Regions from separate parts of the Homo sapiens genome. Here region 2 is linked to region 1. The links are contacts of gene promoters, found by promoter capture Hi-C in human tissues and cell types (Jung and others, 2019). All regions are on one chromosome and are shown on one strand. The core of a region is centred on a gene start or on the middle of the fragment in contact, and the rest is flanking DNA. Distances in the headings are between cores, read along the strand shown. Region 1 holds the start of SH2B2 (SH2B adaptor protein 2). Region 2 holds the start of LOC107986717 (a long non-coding RNA gene).

Evidence for each region. Contacts are between HindIII fragments. The study calls those that stand out against the background at their distance.
Region 2: a fragment that was not itself captured here is called in contact with the fragment with the promoter of SH2B2 in region 1 in 2 of the 25 tissues and cell types used here (lymphoblastoid cells and spleen).

Annotation. Positions count from the first base shown.
Region 1 is chr7:102,282,871-102,290,332 of GRCh38, forward strand. It overlaps SH2B2 (SH2B adaptor protein 2), which reads left to right and starts at 3,998. Exons shown (of 9, transcript NM_001359228.2): 1 at 3,998-4,224. It also overlaps a transcript of CUX1 not described here. RefSeq lists silencers at 1,354-1,538, 3,316-3,895, 3,966-4,505, 7,146-7,225 and enhancers at 5,656-5,745, 6,416-6,465, 6,656-6,795. The HindIII fragment of the contact is 12,688 bases long and covers 1-4,650 here.
Region 2 is chr7:102,328,134-102,335,595 of GRCh38, forward strand. LOC107986717 (a long non-coding RNA gene) reads right to left here and starts at 496. Exons shown (of 3, transcript XR_001744970.3): 1 at 406-496. The HindIII fragment of the contact is 5,280 bases long and covers 408-5,687 here.

The DNA of each region.
Region 1 (7,462 bases), core at 2,748-5,247:
TTAGCCCTCCATCACAGCCCCCCATTCTGGCCCTCCCCCTACCCCTACTCCCGGTATCCACTACCCCCTAGCCCCACCCCATCACATGGTACACACCCCCCTTCCCCAACACACACACTCGGCCTCAGCAAAGCTTCCCGTGTCCCCCAGGTTCGCTGACCACCTGCACAAGTTCCACGAGAATGACAACGGGGCTGCGGCTGGTGACTTGTGGCAGTGATACCCCGGGGCCTCCCCCGTGACAGTGACGGCTGCGCCTCCACCCCGACTGCTCAGTGCATCTAATCACTTAGACTCCCCTGAAGAATCCCCCATGGAAACTGCCCTTATCCGCTGTCCAGCAGCTGCCAGAGGCCCCAGGTCACCTCGGGTCCCCTTGAAAGAATGTCTCGGTCACATCAGGCCCGCTAGGTCCAGAGAGCGAGCCCCCAATGCCCGGCCAGGCTAAGCCGCAGAGACCCTCTCAGCCCCCACCTCAGGTTAGGGCTCTGCCCGCAGCCTGACCTCTAGCCCTGGTGGCAGAGGTCCCTCAGCTGCGAGGCTAATTGGGTGACCACCGATTCCAGCTGCGGTTAATCCAGCTTGGGCCTGTCTGCACTGCGATCCTCTTGGGCTCTCCTAGGATCCCCCCATGCCCCGTAAGAGGTGGAAGACGCTTCCTTCCAGGACAGCAGGCTTTGAGTCCAGCACCCCCAGCCTGCCTTTGCCACCAGCCCCACCCTGCAGAGTATATGAGGCTTGACAGAGTCTGCCCCCTCCCCCACTGCACCCCAAGAGAGAGAGCCCCAGCCAGCGGAACAGTTTCTATTACCCCCTCCCTGCCCCCAGACCCATGTGATTTCTGCTTTCTTCTTTAGCAAGATATTCTGGTTTCTAGATAAGGAAGAGTCTCTAATGAGCCCCCGAGCCCCAGTCTCTTCAGACTCATGGATTGGTATGAGGGGTCTGAACGTCTCCTAGCCAATCAGAACTGGCTGTGGACCACCCTAGCACGGCCACCTCTCAGGGCCACTGGCAGGCCTTCCTGAGTTAGATTTGTAGTTGCATATTTAGCTTTGCACATTTGAAATAAACCACGGTTGCAGCCACCCTGGTGCCCTGTGCTCTGGGACGCTGGAGGGACTGGAGGCTGGTGGGGATGCCTGCGGTGCCACCCCTGGGAGCTGGGGCTGGCCTCACAGCTGGGCACACAGAACATTCCTCCCCCTCTTCTCATCTCCAGGAATTCCATGAGTACATTCAGAGCTCTGCTGAAACCCAGATCCAGTGTCCGAGTGCTTTTGAGAGGACAAGTAGCACCATCAAAAAGGGAAACCCATTCCTTTATTCAAAAACCACCCGGGGCCAGGCGCGGTGGGTCACACCTGTAATCCCAGCGCTTTGGGAGGCCGAGGCAGGTGGATCACTTGAGGTCAGGAGTTCGTGACCAGCCTGGCCAACGTGGTGAAACCCCGTCTCTACCAAAAATACAAAAATTAGCTGGGCATGGTGGCGCATGCCTGTAATCCCAGCCACTCAGGAGGGTGAGGCAGGAGAATCGTTTGAACCCGGGAGGCGGAGGTTGCAGTGAGCTGAGATCGTGCCAGTGCACTCCAGCCTGGGAAACAGAGTGAGACTCCATCTCAAAAAAAAAAAAAAAACCACCTGTCGGGCTGTGGTTGGGTGTATGACGTGTCTTGGTCCACGTCAGTTCCTGGGGAATCTCTGCTTCCCTTTCTGTGCTCCCCTTTCCCATGGGCCCCCGCCTGCCAGGGGCTGCAAAGCCCGTGCCCATCAATCTCCCTGAGCACCAGCCTCGCATGGGAACCCCCCGAGACACAGGTTCTGGGCCACCTCACCTCCAGCCCAGCCTCAGATAGAGGAGCGCATTCTCTGGGTCTGGAGTGGGTGCATTAACTCATTGTCCAGCTGTCACAAGACTGGCTGCAAACCCAGGTCCCCCACTGCAGCCCACCAGGCCAGGGTCCCCTGTGCTACCTCTGTCTCCATTTTAGTTCTGAACAGTCTAAAGCATGTGTATCCAGGGGCCTTTCTTTGGGGTCCCCGTCCCAGCACCCCTCATCTCCCCCATGAGGACTTCTTCCAAGCCCCTCAAGCCTCCTGCCCTCAGGGACCCAGGATGGACCTTTCCTCCCTGACCTTCATTCCTATCCCCAGCGAGGCGACAGCTGCTCTTGGCCAACCACGCCCCCTCCACCCCCACAGCCACTTCCACATCTCCATCAGTTCCTCCTTGTGGGTCCGAGGCGCTCTGCCGCCGGCCCCTCCTCACTTCTTCCTCCCTGGGGATGGATCCAAGCTATTGTCCTGCCCATGGCTTCCCATCTCAGGACCCTCTCTGGCCGCTATCATCCCAGCAGTGGAGTTCAGCCCACTACTCTGAACCAGGTTAGTCCACCGCGGGTCAGGCTCTCCCCTCTCCCAGGAGGGTGGAGACCACAACCAGGCCATGTATGGAGCTTCCCTTTCTCCCACTCTCGGGCACCCCCTCCTCCCCCTTCCCGGCCTCATTCATAGGTGTCCTGGTTCCCAACCAGGCGTGCAGGCCTGTGTGCAGCTCCGATCGAGGGCTGGCCCACTGCCGAAGCTTTCATTAAAGTGTCTGCTGGCCTGGTCCTGCGGAGGGAACAGAGCCGAGATGTGGGGCAGGGAAGGGGTCTGCCTGTCTTCCGTGCCCCCGTGGAGGGCAGCACCGGGGTTTTGGGCAGCAGGTGAAGGCTCTGTCCCCTCCACCTTCAACTCTGGAAGCCCCACCTTTCCATCCCTAAGAAGGGTTTGATAAAAACCCTTGTCTGTAAATTAGAGATGGGAAATGGCTCTGGGAAAAGTCAGAGGTCAGTTTGGGCCCGGGAGGGCGACAGATGGAGGCAGCTCCGGCTGGCAAGGAGACCAGGACAGAACTGCCAGAGGTGGGGGCAGGGGACAAGGAGGGAGATGAGGGGAGAAGACACCCAGGGGTCCCCCCCTGCTATCTCCAGGAGCAAGACTACTCTCTTCTCTGAGCGGCCCTTTCCACACCTCTGCCCCCACCGAAGCCCTCCCTCCCCTCTCAGACCCCTTCCAGGCCTGCTGAGCCCCCTGCACCTCTTTCAGGAAGCCTCCCAGAGCCCCCGCGCTGTGCCCTCAGCACCAGGGGTCAGGCTACAAATGCCCCGCAAAGCCCAGCGGGACTGTTTCCTCAGCCCCACTGGTCTCTGCCCTAAAGCAGGCGAGTTCTGGAGCCAGGCAGGGGTGAGGAAGGTGCCAGGGTTGTGGCCCCTCATCGCCCCTCTATGATCTCTGACACCTCTCCGGGTGGCATCAGGCCCCCATCACAGCGAAGGCTGGGTGGTGGGGGCACTGCGCTCAGGGGGGCCGTCCCGCCCTGTGGCCCGGGGGCGATTTCCCGCACCGGAGGGCTGCAGGGAGGGGGCGTGGTGGCGCCCTCGAGATTTATGAGAACCAGGCGTCGACTTCCTCCGTTGCGACATCCAGGCCTCCTCCAGGCTCCCATTGTCCCTGCTGCGGAGAGTCTGGCCACAGCGGCGGCTCCCGCGAAGCACCCGTCAGCGAGGGGCGCTTCGAGGGCGTCCGCGTCCCATACACCCGCCACGCAGGACATTCCCCCGGCCCCACGCTCCGCGCTCCCGGGGCCACCACCACCGCGGGCTCGAGGGGTGGCCTCCACGAGGAGGAGTGGGAGTCCCGCGCCTGGCCTGGGGCCGGCTCGGCGACATGGGGACCCCCGCCCAGATGGGGCGACTCGGAGCCGGCTCCTAACCCCTCTCTCCGGGCCCCAGGACCGGGCAGTCTCGGCACCGCAGCTGCGGGGAGCCAGCAAGCACCGGCCACCGGCGCCGCTCGGGCTCCGCGGATGGCCGGGGGCGGGGCCTGAGCGGCGCAAGTGGGGGCGGGAGGGGGCGGGGCCAGGACGCGCGAGGGGGGGCGGGGCCGGGGCTCGCGGCGGGGGCGGGGGCGGGGCGGGGCCGGGAGGCGCGCGCCTCGCGGGCGGAGGGGCGCGCCGCGCTGGGGCTGGGCTTGGAGCGCGCGGAGCTCGGCTGCCAGAGAGCCGCGCGGGGGACGCGCCGGGACCGCGAGGAGCGCAGGAGCCTTCGAGGCGGTGAACGAGGGAGGGAGCCCAGTCCGCCGCGGGCCATGAGCCACCGGGCCCGGGGAGCCCGGCCGCGGTCCGGGCAGCGCTCAGCCGGCGCCCCAGCCCGCTCGGCCGCAGCTGCGCGCCTGTAGGTATGGCCTCCTTATACCCAGTTCCTCGCTCCCTGGTCCTTCCCCCGGGACCCCTGTCTGTCCCCGGGGACGTGCGCTGTGTGCGCACCGCTGCCCGAAGGAGAGCGGCCGCACGCGCCTTGGTCCGCGCGTGTCGTCTTTGTGTGCGCGGGTGGGAGGGAGGAGGGCGCGCGAGGGAGGGGAGGCGCCCCCGGCTGGGATCTGCTCCCCGATCCCCATCCCGGGCGGGGCGGGGAGCCGCTGGAGGGGCCGAGCCGCCTCTGGAGCAGCTGCGCCCCCGCCCCCTGCTAGGGCCCCGGCCGGGTAGTGGGGCGAGAGCAGCCGGGTCCTTAGAGGAGGGGTCTCTGGTTGGGGGAAGGGGTGCCCAGGTCTCTTCCCTACGCTGGGAGCGCTGGGAGGGGGCGTCAACCTAGAATGAGGGTGAGGGCCACGGGATGGGATCGGGGAGGACCTCCTCCAGGCCACAGGCACGCCCTCCCTTTGGCCCAGGCCCCCCTTTCTCGACCTGCCCAGCCGGGGAGCTCCCCGGAGCCCCCGATTGCCGGGAGGATCGTGGAGGGTGCCCAAGAGGCCGGCGCCTTTAAGAAGGGGCGGGTTCGTGCCCTCCATTCAGGCCCTTGGGCCTCGGCCATTGATGAACCTGCGGGCTGCGCGGGCCGGAACCGCGCCAGCCCAGCGGGCTGAAGCCGGGCAGAGGCAGGGACGCATCCTGGCCCCCTGCAGCCCCGAAGTGGGGGCCTTCAGGGAGGGAAGTCTGCAGTGACTGGAGCCTCTCAGGAGCCACGCAAGGCAGACCGGGCAGCCCCAGGCGAGACTCTGAACACGAATAAGCCAGGATCTACGTGCACTTCGAGCTAGTGCAAGGGAGAGCCTCAGGCTAGGCTGTCAGACCTGGGTGGAGCCCTACCAATGCCCCCGAGCCAACATCACCTACCCTGTAAAATGGGATGGTGCTGCCTGCCTCCTGGCTAAGGGACCGGCAACTCCCGGCAGGAATTGCGTCCCAGAGTCAGGTCCCTGGAGCTCCTCTGGGAGGACTGGGGGCAGGGGGTGTGGTTTCCCCAAGAGGTTTTGACTGCCTCTTGAGCTGAAGCCCCCACTACTGTGTCCCACCTTGAACTCTCCCAACCTCTTCCCTCCTGGCCTCCCCACTCCACGCAGGAAGAGGTTGGGAGAGTGACCTAGAACTTTTCAGCTCCAGGAGCTTTGGGAGAGGTCTGGTGGTGGCGGTGGTGGCACTTCTTTTAGGCTAGTGTGGATCAGGGCATTTTTGGGGGTCTCAGAGACAGTTTCCCACCAGCTACTTCCTTAGAGGTCTGTCCTACCAACATACAAGAACAGCCCCACCCCGTGGCAGGCCGGCTTCTGATGCTGCTTGGTTGAATGCTTCTAGGTAATCAAGGGTTAATGCACACGCTTTTCTTTTTACCCTTGTTGTGAAAAATCTGTCTGAAGTTTCTAAATCCCTCTTCCCTACTTAGCGTGAATCTCCTAGGGAGGACTTCTATACAAATACCCAGGGGTGGGCTTCCCTTGGGGGTCTTGGAAGTGGGATCTCCACCCAAGTGATCCTGGGCCTCCCAGGGCTGAGCTTTTGGTTTCAAACTTACTTGTGCCAAGCTAAGGGCATCAGGATCGCCGTTCGTGTCATCTTTACAACAATCCTGTGGGTTTAGTGCTATTATTATCCCCACACACTTAGGGAGGGGAAGTGACTGGCCCAAAGTCCCGCAGTCAACGAGCCAGGCCTCCCAACCACTCCTCTCTGACAAGAGGCTGGCACTTCTTGCCCTGCCTACCCAGCCTGGGTTGCAAGGAATTGGGGGTTTAGGGGCTTCAGGCCTCCTGGCTGCTGTCTTCCCGGGGCTACGCTCATTCTTACTGTCCAAGTGAGGCCAGGGGACTGGTCAGAGCCCTGGGGCCTGGGGAGGTTTCTCTTCCCTGCTCACCTGGCTGGGTGCCGTTTTATGGCTATGCTCTGTCTAGGGGGATAGCAGGTGTGACCCCTCAACACGAGGTCACAGCCCACACCTGTTTGGGCAGAGCAAGGCAGGGCATCGCTGTGTGGGCGTGCAGCATCTTTTGGTTCCTCTGGGTGAAGCAGGGTTTGGGCCCCATTCTCCACATACTTCCGGGCCATCTGAGGGTAGCGCCCACCTGGGGGGTGGGGAGGACAACCAGCCAGGAGCTCACGGTTCGGTGGAAGAGACAGGCCACAGCCATGTGGTGTGGTGGAGGGGCAGGGGGCAAGGGTGGAGGTGGGAAGAGGATCAAGGGGCGTTCCCGAGGCCTCTGTGGGCTTGGGGGCCTGCCTGCTATTGGGGCAGAACAGGGGAAGTAGGCAGTGCCCAGCTGGGTGCTGAGGCTCTGTGCAGAGGACAGGCAGGAGTTGGAGGAAGAGGATGTATTTGAACTTGGATGTGGTGAGTTTGAGGTACCTGGAGATCAGCCAGGCTGGGAGTTGAGCTCAGAGAAAGGCCCAGGGAAGCTTTATTAGCACCTGTAGTCTCCAGAGTTCGGGGATGCTCAGATCTTAGGGGTGCCACCAGAGGTCTCAGGAGGCACTGGTATGAGTGTCCTGGAAAAGCCAGAAGGCAGCTGGGTGGGATGAGTTGGTGAGGGGCACTAAGGGGGTATCCTGCAGGTTTAGGGGGCTGGGCCAGGGCCCATGTGAGAGTTATGACACTGGGGGAGTGGAAGGGGCTGAGTGTCTCAGGCCAAGGCTGGAGATGGGAGGGGGGAACCTCTGCTCTGCAACCCCAGAAAGGCAGGGTGGGGTGGGAGTAACCAGGGCCAGTGCAGCTGGAACCAGCTCAGCCTGTCCTCCACCTGCAGAGCCCATCCAGGAACTGTCCAGCACTGGGTGCTCCTGAAGGAGGCTGAGTCTGCCTCTTGAGCCCACAGGCCCTGGCTTAGCTTGTTGTCCTGGCCCCCACTCCCTGCTTATCTGACCCGCACTTCCTGCAGAGCCCAGCTGTGGATTCCCCCGCCCCCCCACCCAGCCGCTCAGAGTGCCCCATCCTCTAAAGGTGGTCATTTCCTTTCCTGAAACAGGGATTCAGTCTTCCCACTCTGCCCTTGGAAGCGGAGTTCCCCAGAAACAGGTCTCAGAAAGGGACCAGCCTGGAACTTGGCTCCATACCCCCCTTTTTTTTTTTTATTTTTTTGAGACAGAGTCTTGCTCTGTCGACCAGGCTGGAGTGCAGTGGCGTGCAACCTCAGCTCCCTGCAACCTCCG
Region 2 (7,462 bases), core at 1,798-4,297, 44 kb after region 1:
CTTATTGTTAGTAGGAAGTTGGGATAAAGTCTTTTTTTTTTTTTTGAGACAGAGTTTCACTCTCGTCACCCAGGCTGGAGTGCAATGGTGTGATCTCGGCTCACTACAACCTCTGCCTCCCAGGTTCAAGTGATTCTCCTGCCTCAGTCTCCCGAGTAGCTGGGATTACAGGTGTTTCACCATGTTGGCCAGGCTGGTCTCAAACTCCTGACCTCAGGTGATCCACCTGCCTTGGCCTCCCAAAGTGTTGGGATTACAGGCGTAAGCCACCACACCCGGCCAGGACAAAGTCTTAAAGGAAAACTTTCACATGAAAGCAATGGAGACGAAGAATGAGGAAATGAGGAGGGGAAGGACAACCCTTCCCAGTATTCTCTCCGAAGAAGAGAATCAAATGCTACTCACTTAGCGGGTAGAGAGATCACTGCTCTTTGTAGAGAAAAATAATCATGGCCCAGGAAGTCATCCATCATTCATCCATAAACGGGAGAGTAATATGGACCTAGAGTTAAATTTCACCCCGTGAAACATCAACCACGTCTTATCAATTCAAGTTTATAACATTGATATAATCGGGTACACCACAGCAGCACTGACAGAAATAGAAATGATTCAGAGAAAGCCAATTAAAACAGCCAGGGGACAAAGCAGATCTGTATGACATTAGCTTTTTTCCTTCCGGAAAGTTAAAAAACCAAGATATATTATTATAAACTATACAGAATAAACTCATATGTGGTAATAAATAAGGATACACAGACCTGTTTACAAAATCCCCAAGCAGAAGAACTAGGGGACACCAGATAAAAAGTTTATACAATTTACCAGGCAACAAGTAAAGAACTCTTTACTCACCCATCTGCCACCTCCCAGCCCCCACCAGGGGTTGTACATGCTGAACACAGAAATGTGTTTAAGAGAGGTTTAGACACGATGGATGATGGATTAAAAACAGGATGTGCTTGAACCCGGAAGGCGGAGGTTGCAGTGAGCCAAGATCACACCACTGCACTCCAGCCTGGGCGACAGGGCGAGACTCCATCTCATACAAACAAACAAACAAACAAAAAACAGGATGTACTACTATTTTGATGTCTACAACATCTAGGACCCCCCAAAAAAAACACCTGGAGCTGGAGGGAGGGTGTCACTGTGCTGAACGAGTACAGCACTTCTGGTGTATTCACACAGTCCCACGCATATTATCATCAATGTGGGAAAACGAGAGGGGGAAGGCTGCCACGGACACAGGAAGTGGCCGCACAATGCAACATCTACTTACCCTCTGAGGGATGGTTTGAGTCCCTGTCATCGAAGGGTAGACTGGCAGAGGAACTAGAAGATGCAGACAAGGCCCTCTTGGTACCTCCCGCAGCTCTCTGCAGTGGGGAAGACATGCTTGGCGAGGAGGAGCTATGGGGCCAGGAAGACGAGGACCGCAGGGTAGGTTTGGCAATCCAGCTGGGGAAGAAAGAGAAGAAAGGGCTCCTACCACAGCACTTCTCCATCCCCAGCCGTGAGCAGTCCCTTTCTTTGCAAGGGAATGGTTCTAGAACTGTGGGGTCAGGTGAGGGGGACCAAAAACTAAGACAAAGGCTGGGCACCGTGGCTCATGCCTATAATCCCAGCACTTTGGGAGGCCAGGGCAGGAGGATGGCTTGACCCAGGAGTTCAAGACCAGCCCGGGCAATACAGCAAGATCCCATTTCTACAAAAAAAATAATACTAATTAGCCAGGTGTGGTAGCACGTGCCTGTATTCAGCTATTCAGGAGGCTAAGGTGGGAGGACTGCTTGAGTCCAGGAGTTCAAAGCTGCAGTGAGCTATGATCGCACCACTGTACTCCAGCCAGGGTGACAGAGTGAGACTCTGTCTCAAAAAATAAAAATTAAAAAATAAAAAATAAAAGGAGACATTATAGGAGGCAAGTCTGCAAAGCCTTAACTACAAACTAAAGAAACCAAAAGGAAAAAGAAGACTTTAAAAAATCTTTAGAAGTCTAAGAAGTCTTAAGTCTGTTCCGGGTGGAGCAGAGTTAAGTATGCCAATTAAATTATTGGGTGCTGGCCGGGCATGGTGGCTCACATCTGTAATCCCAGCACTTTGGAAGGGCAAGGCAGGTGGATCACTTGAGGTCAGGAGTTCGAGAGGACAACACGATGAAACTCCATCTCTACTGATGGATGTGAAAGGATGACTCCATCTCAAAAAAAAAAAAAAATTACGTGCTGACTGAAAATAAATTTGAAAGCAAGGTGTGTGACAGGGAAGGCTACTACCTGTGTAATATTCTGTTACTTAATGATAAGTCCTGAGTCATATTTCCAATCTCTCTTAACCAGCCTGTATTTGTACATTGCTTGTGTACAAGCTTGCTAATTTCCACAAATGGCAGTAGGTTGTCTGCTCCAATAGGGCCAAAAATGCATCTACTGGATTCAAAGCTCAGTAAGGGCCAGGTGCAGTGGCTCATGCCTGTAATCTTGGCACTTTGGGAGGCCAAGGCAGGCAGATCACTTGAGGTCAGGAGTTTGAGACCAGCCTGGCCAACATGGTGAAACCCCTTCTCTACTAAAAATACAAAAAATTGCTGGCCGTGGTGGTGGGCACCTGTAATACCAGCTACTGGGGAGGCTGAGGCAGGAGAATTGCTTGAACCTGGGAGACGGCAGCTGCAGTGAGCCGAGATCATGACACTGCACTGCAGCCTGGACGACAGAGTGAGACTCCGTCTCAAAAAAACTCAGTCAGGAATGAAGAATGTCTGAAGTACTGTATGTGTAACGTGGCTTGTGATTCTTAAGCCCTGAGTGCAGCTTGAGCTAGTCCTTCATGATCTAATACCAAAATGTTCAAGATCTGTTTTATGTCATTGGTGCCTTCTAATGTTGGCCTGTTGTTTTCCTTGCTGAGACTAGATTATGATGTGGTATATTGTTTTTATCAATTTAACTTATAAGTATTTATAAGCAGCTTATTCTTCATGTTGCTCTCATTTACCCTGGAGATGCTTGATTGCTTTTTTTTTGTTTTTTTTTTTTTTTTTTGAGACAGGGTTTCACTCTGTTGCCCATGCTGGAGTGCAGTGGCACGATCACAGCTCAATGCAGCCCTGACCTCCTGGGCTCAAGTGATTCTACCACCTCAGCCTCCTGAATAGCTGGGACTACAGGCACGTGCTACAACACCTGGCTAAGTTTTGTACTTTTTGTAAAGATGGGGTTTCACCATGTTGCCCAGATTGGTTTTGAACTCCTAGGTTCAAGTGGTCCTCCTGCCTTGGTCTCCCAAAGTGCTGGGATTACAGATGTGAGCCACCATGCCTGGCCAAGATGTTTTATTGCTAATTATTTGTCTGTCCACATTGTTATCATCTCCTAGAGAAATTGCTAGAAGAGTGAGATTACGTGTCCTCTAAGTTATAAGTTCACAAATAAAAGCCCAAAGGAAGTTAGGTAGCAGACTTAAAAACAAATTAAAAAGACCCTGCAAAACTTGGTCTTAAATGAAAGGTGACATTCTCCAACCTGGGTTGTCTTTCTGGTTTCATGGGACTGTGCAGTGCAGTTGGAGGGTGACTGGGCCCTGTTTCCACGGCACTCTCTAGGTGCAGGGACCATTGAACCATGTCTGCTATTCCTGTCTTAGCTCTGTACTGAAATAACAGTTGTGTTACTGGGTTTCAAAAGAAAGTCCATCCCTCCTGATCTAGGCAGAAAGCCATTAAAGAAAACAGAAGGATAATGAGCAGTGGGAAAACAAACCAGAAAAGTTACCGATTCACCCATCTTGTGTCAGAATCGACAGGCCTGTTGCTCCTGCTGGAAACCTAGGATGTACGTTTGCAATGAGAAAAGAGTGAAAGACTTGAGCAGGTACATTACGAAAGAGCAATCACAGCGGCCAGTGAATATGAAAAGGTCCTCAACTTAGAGAAGTCTGGAGAAATCCAAACTAAAACTACCCTAGGATACCACGCTACACCCACCAGCTTTAGGCAGGATGCAAACATCAGGAATTCTACCCTGCTGGTGAGCAGTGAGAGAGCGCATAAACCAGTATAACAACTTTGGAAAACAATTTAGTAGGGTGGAAAGCCAGGTGGACCACTGAGCCAGCAGTCCCATTCATTAGTACATACCCCATGCCTGCTCCTCTGTGTAAGAATATTCACTGCAGAGACCGGGCGCGGTGGCTCACGCCTGTAATTCCAGCACTTTGGGAGGCCGAGGTGGGCGGATCATGAGGTTAGGAGATAGAGACCATCCTGGCTAACACAGTGAAACCCCGTCTCTACTAAAAACACAAAAAGTTAGCCAGGCGTGGTGGCGGGTACCTGTAGTCCCAGCTACTCTGGAGGCTGAGGCAGGAGAATGGCGTGAACCCAGGAGGTGGAGGTTGCAGTGAGCCGAGATCACGCCACTGCACTCCAACCTGGGCAACAGAGCGAGACTCTGTCTCCAAAAAAAACAAAAAAAAAGAATATTCCCTGCAGAATTGTTCATAGCAGGTTAAAATGGAAAACAATCCAGTGTCCCTGAGCAAGAAGGAGGGATAAATATATGGTGGAGAGTCATGAAATAGAACAGCATACTACAGAGAAAATGAATACTTCTGTTGTTACAATAAAATGACTTCTAAAATAATGTCTACAAAAAAGAAGCCAGGGCTGGGCACCAGTGGCTCATGTTTGTAATCCCAGCACTTTGGGGGGCTGGGGTTACAAGATCACTTGAGGCCACGAGATGGAGACCACCTTGGATCTCGTTAACCACCTTTTATGTAGAGATGTGGTGAGACCCCATCTCTACATGGAAAAAAAAAGCCAGACATATTAAATATACGCTGTATGCTTACCTATATTGTGATACCCTACCTTATTTTAACGTGATTGTCTCTCTTAGCTGAGAGAGCCAGACAGGCTCCATTTTAGTTCCTTCACTTGCAGCCCCCTCCCTTAAAGGCATAACTAGTCTAAGCTGACTCCATGCACGTCTAGGAATGCACTTACTGATAAGGTATCGAGGCAAGCTGAACCAGCAGCTCTTGGGGACTCGCTCGGTGGATGATACCAAAAGACCCTGCATTTATCTCTTTGTGGTAGTTTGAGCCCCTGCACCTGGAACTGTTTATTTTTCTGTAACTATTTATGTAACCAATTAATCTTTTTAATTTTTCCCTGTTCTGCTTCTGTAAAAATTGTTTCAGCTAAACTCCCCCTCCCCTATTTAGACCACGGTATAAAAAGAAATCTAGCCCCTTCTTCGGGGCCAAAAGAATTTTGAGCTCTAGCCATCTCTCAGTCACCGGCAATAAAGGACTCCTAAATCAGTCTCATGGTGCGGCGTTTCTCTATAACTCGCTCGGTTACAACAATATCAAGACTATATTGTTTAGGGGCCAGGCATGGTGGCTCACGCCTGTAATCCCAGCACTTTGGGAGGTCGAGGCAGGCAGATCGCTGGAGGTCAGGAGTTCGAGACCAGCCTGGCCAACATGGTGAAACCCTGACTCTACTAAAAATACAACATTAGCCGGGTGCAGTGGACGGCGCCTGTAATCTCAGCTACTCAGGAGGCTGAGGCGGGAGAACTGCTTGAACCCGGGAGTCAGAGGTTGCAGTGAGCCGAGATCATGCCACTGCACTCCAGCCTGGGTGACAGAGTGAGATTCTGTCTGAAAAAAACAAACAAAAAAAACAAACAAAAACCCAGACTATATTGTTTAGGGATACTTAGTTGACAAAATAACAGACACAAACAGGACATAATTACCATAAAAATCAGGACCTGGGGGGGGGGGTTGGGGGGGGAGATTTAAGTGGAAAGAATGGAGCGGTGACAATGTGTGTCAACCTGGGAGGTGGTGACCCTGGGGTTCGCTTTGTAATTCCTCAAAATGAGCATTTATGTGCTATTCACTTTTCACAGGGCAGAATCTCTGAACTAACATGTTTACGCAGCCATATGCAAAAAAAAAAAAATGGATAATTTGTATTCTAATTAAAATATTTAAAAATTGGAGACAAGGCGGCCGGGCGCGGTGGCTCAGGCCTGTAATCCCAGCACTTTGGGAGGCTGAGGCGGGTGGATCACAAGGTCAGGAGATCGAGCCCATCCTGGCTAACACAGTGAAACCCTGTCTCTACTAAAAACACACACAAAAAAATTAGCCGGGCGTGGTGGCAGGCGCCTGTAGTCCCAGCTACTCGGGAGGCTGAGGCAGGAGAATGGCGTGAACCTGGGAGGCGGAGCTTGCAGTGAGCCGAGATCAGGCCACTGCATTCCAGCCTGGGCGACAGAGCTAGACTCCGACTCAAAAAAAAAAAAAAAATAGAGACAAGGAACTAACTATGTTGCTCACGCTGGTCTCAAACTCTCAGGGCTCAAGCAATCCTCCCGCCTCGGTCTCCCAAGGCGCTGAGATTCCAGGCATGAACCACTGTGCCCAACCAGGGAAAAATAAAATAAAATAAATAAATAAATGTATATATATATACATACACACACACGGGTGTGTATGTATATATATATGTATATATACACACACGTGTGTATGTATATATACACACACGTGTGTATATATATATACACACACGTGTATATATATACACACACGTGTATATATACACACACATATGTGTATATATATATGTATGTGTGTATATATTTTTCATACGTGTATATATATAACATTTTTGTTTTTTTGAGACACAGTTTCACTCTTGTTGCCCAGGCTCGAGTGCAATGGCTCGATCTCAGCTCACGGCAAACTCCGCCTCCAGGGTTCAAATGATTCTCCTGCCTCAGCCTCCCGAGTGGCTGGGATTACAGGCGCCCGCCACACGCCCAGCTGATTTTTGTATTTTTAGTAGAGACGAGGTTTCAACATGTTGGCCAGGCTGGTCTCGAACTCCTGACCTCAGGTGGTCATGTTTTGTAGACAGCAGGAGCTTCATGAAAAGAAGCCAATGAAGGGCAAGGAAGTGTAGCTGTCTACCTACGGGAAACCAGCCAGGAGCCTCCCCACAGGGCACCTGTAATCCCAGCTACTTGGGAGGCTGAGGCAGGAGAATCGCTGGAACCCAGGAGGCGGAGGTTGCAGTGAGCTGAGATCGTGCCACTGCAGTCTAGCCTGGGTGACACAGCAAGACTCCGTCTCAAAAAAAAAAAAAAAAAAATCAGAAGTGGACTGTAGCCTATAGTGTGTTGCCTAATAAACTTATTTTTAGAGATACTTCTTTCAATTTTCTGTGAGGTCATCTGCAGTTTCACATGGTAGACAGACTTAGGTGAGATTCTTAGCAAGGTAGAACGAAGAGTAAAGAGGTTTGTTTATTTCACAAGGGTTTATTGAAGGCCTACGATGTGTTAAATGCTGTAGGAAATACCCACTGATTTCTCTTTCATGGAGGTTTCCTGCCTTCTCTTAACAAGTTATCAATTAAACGGTTTACTGGAAA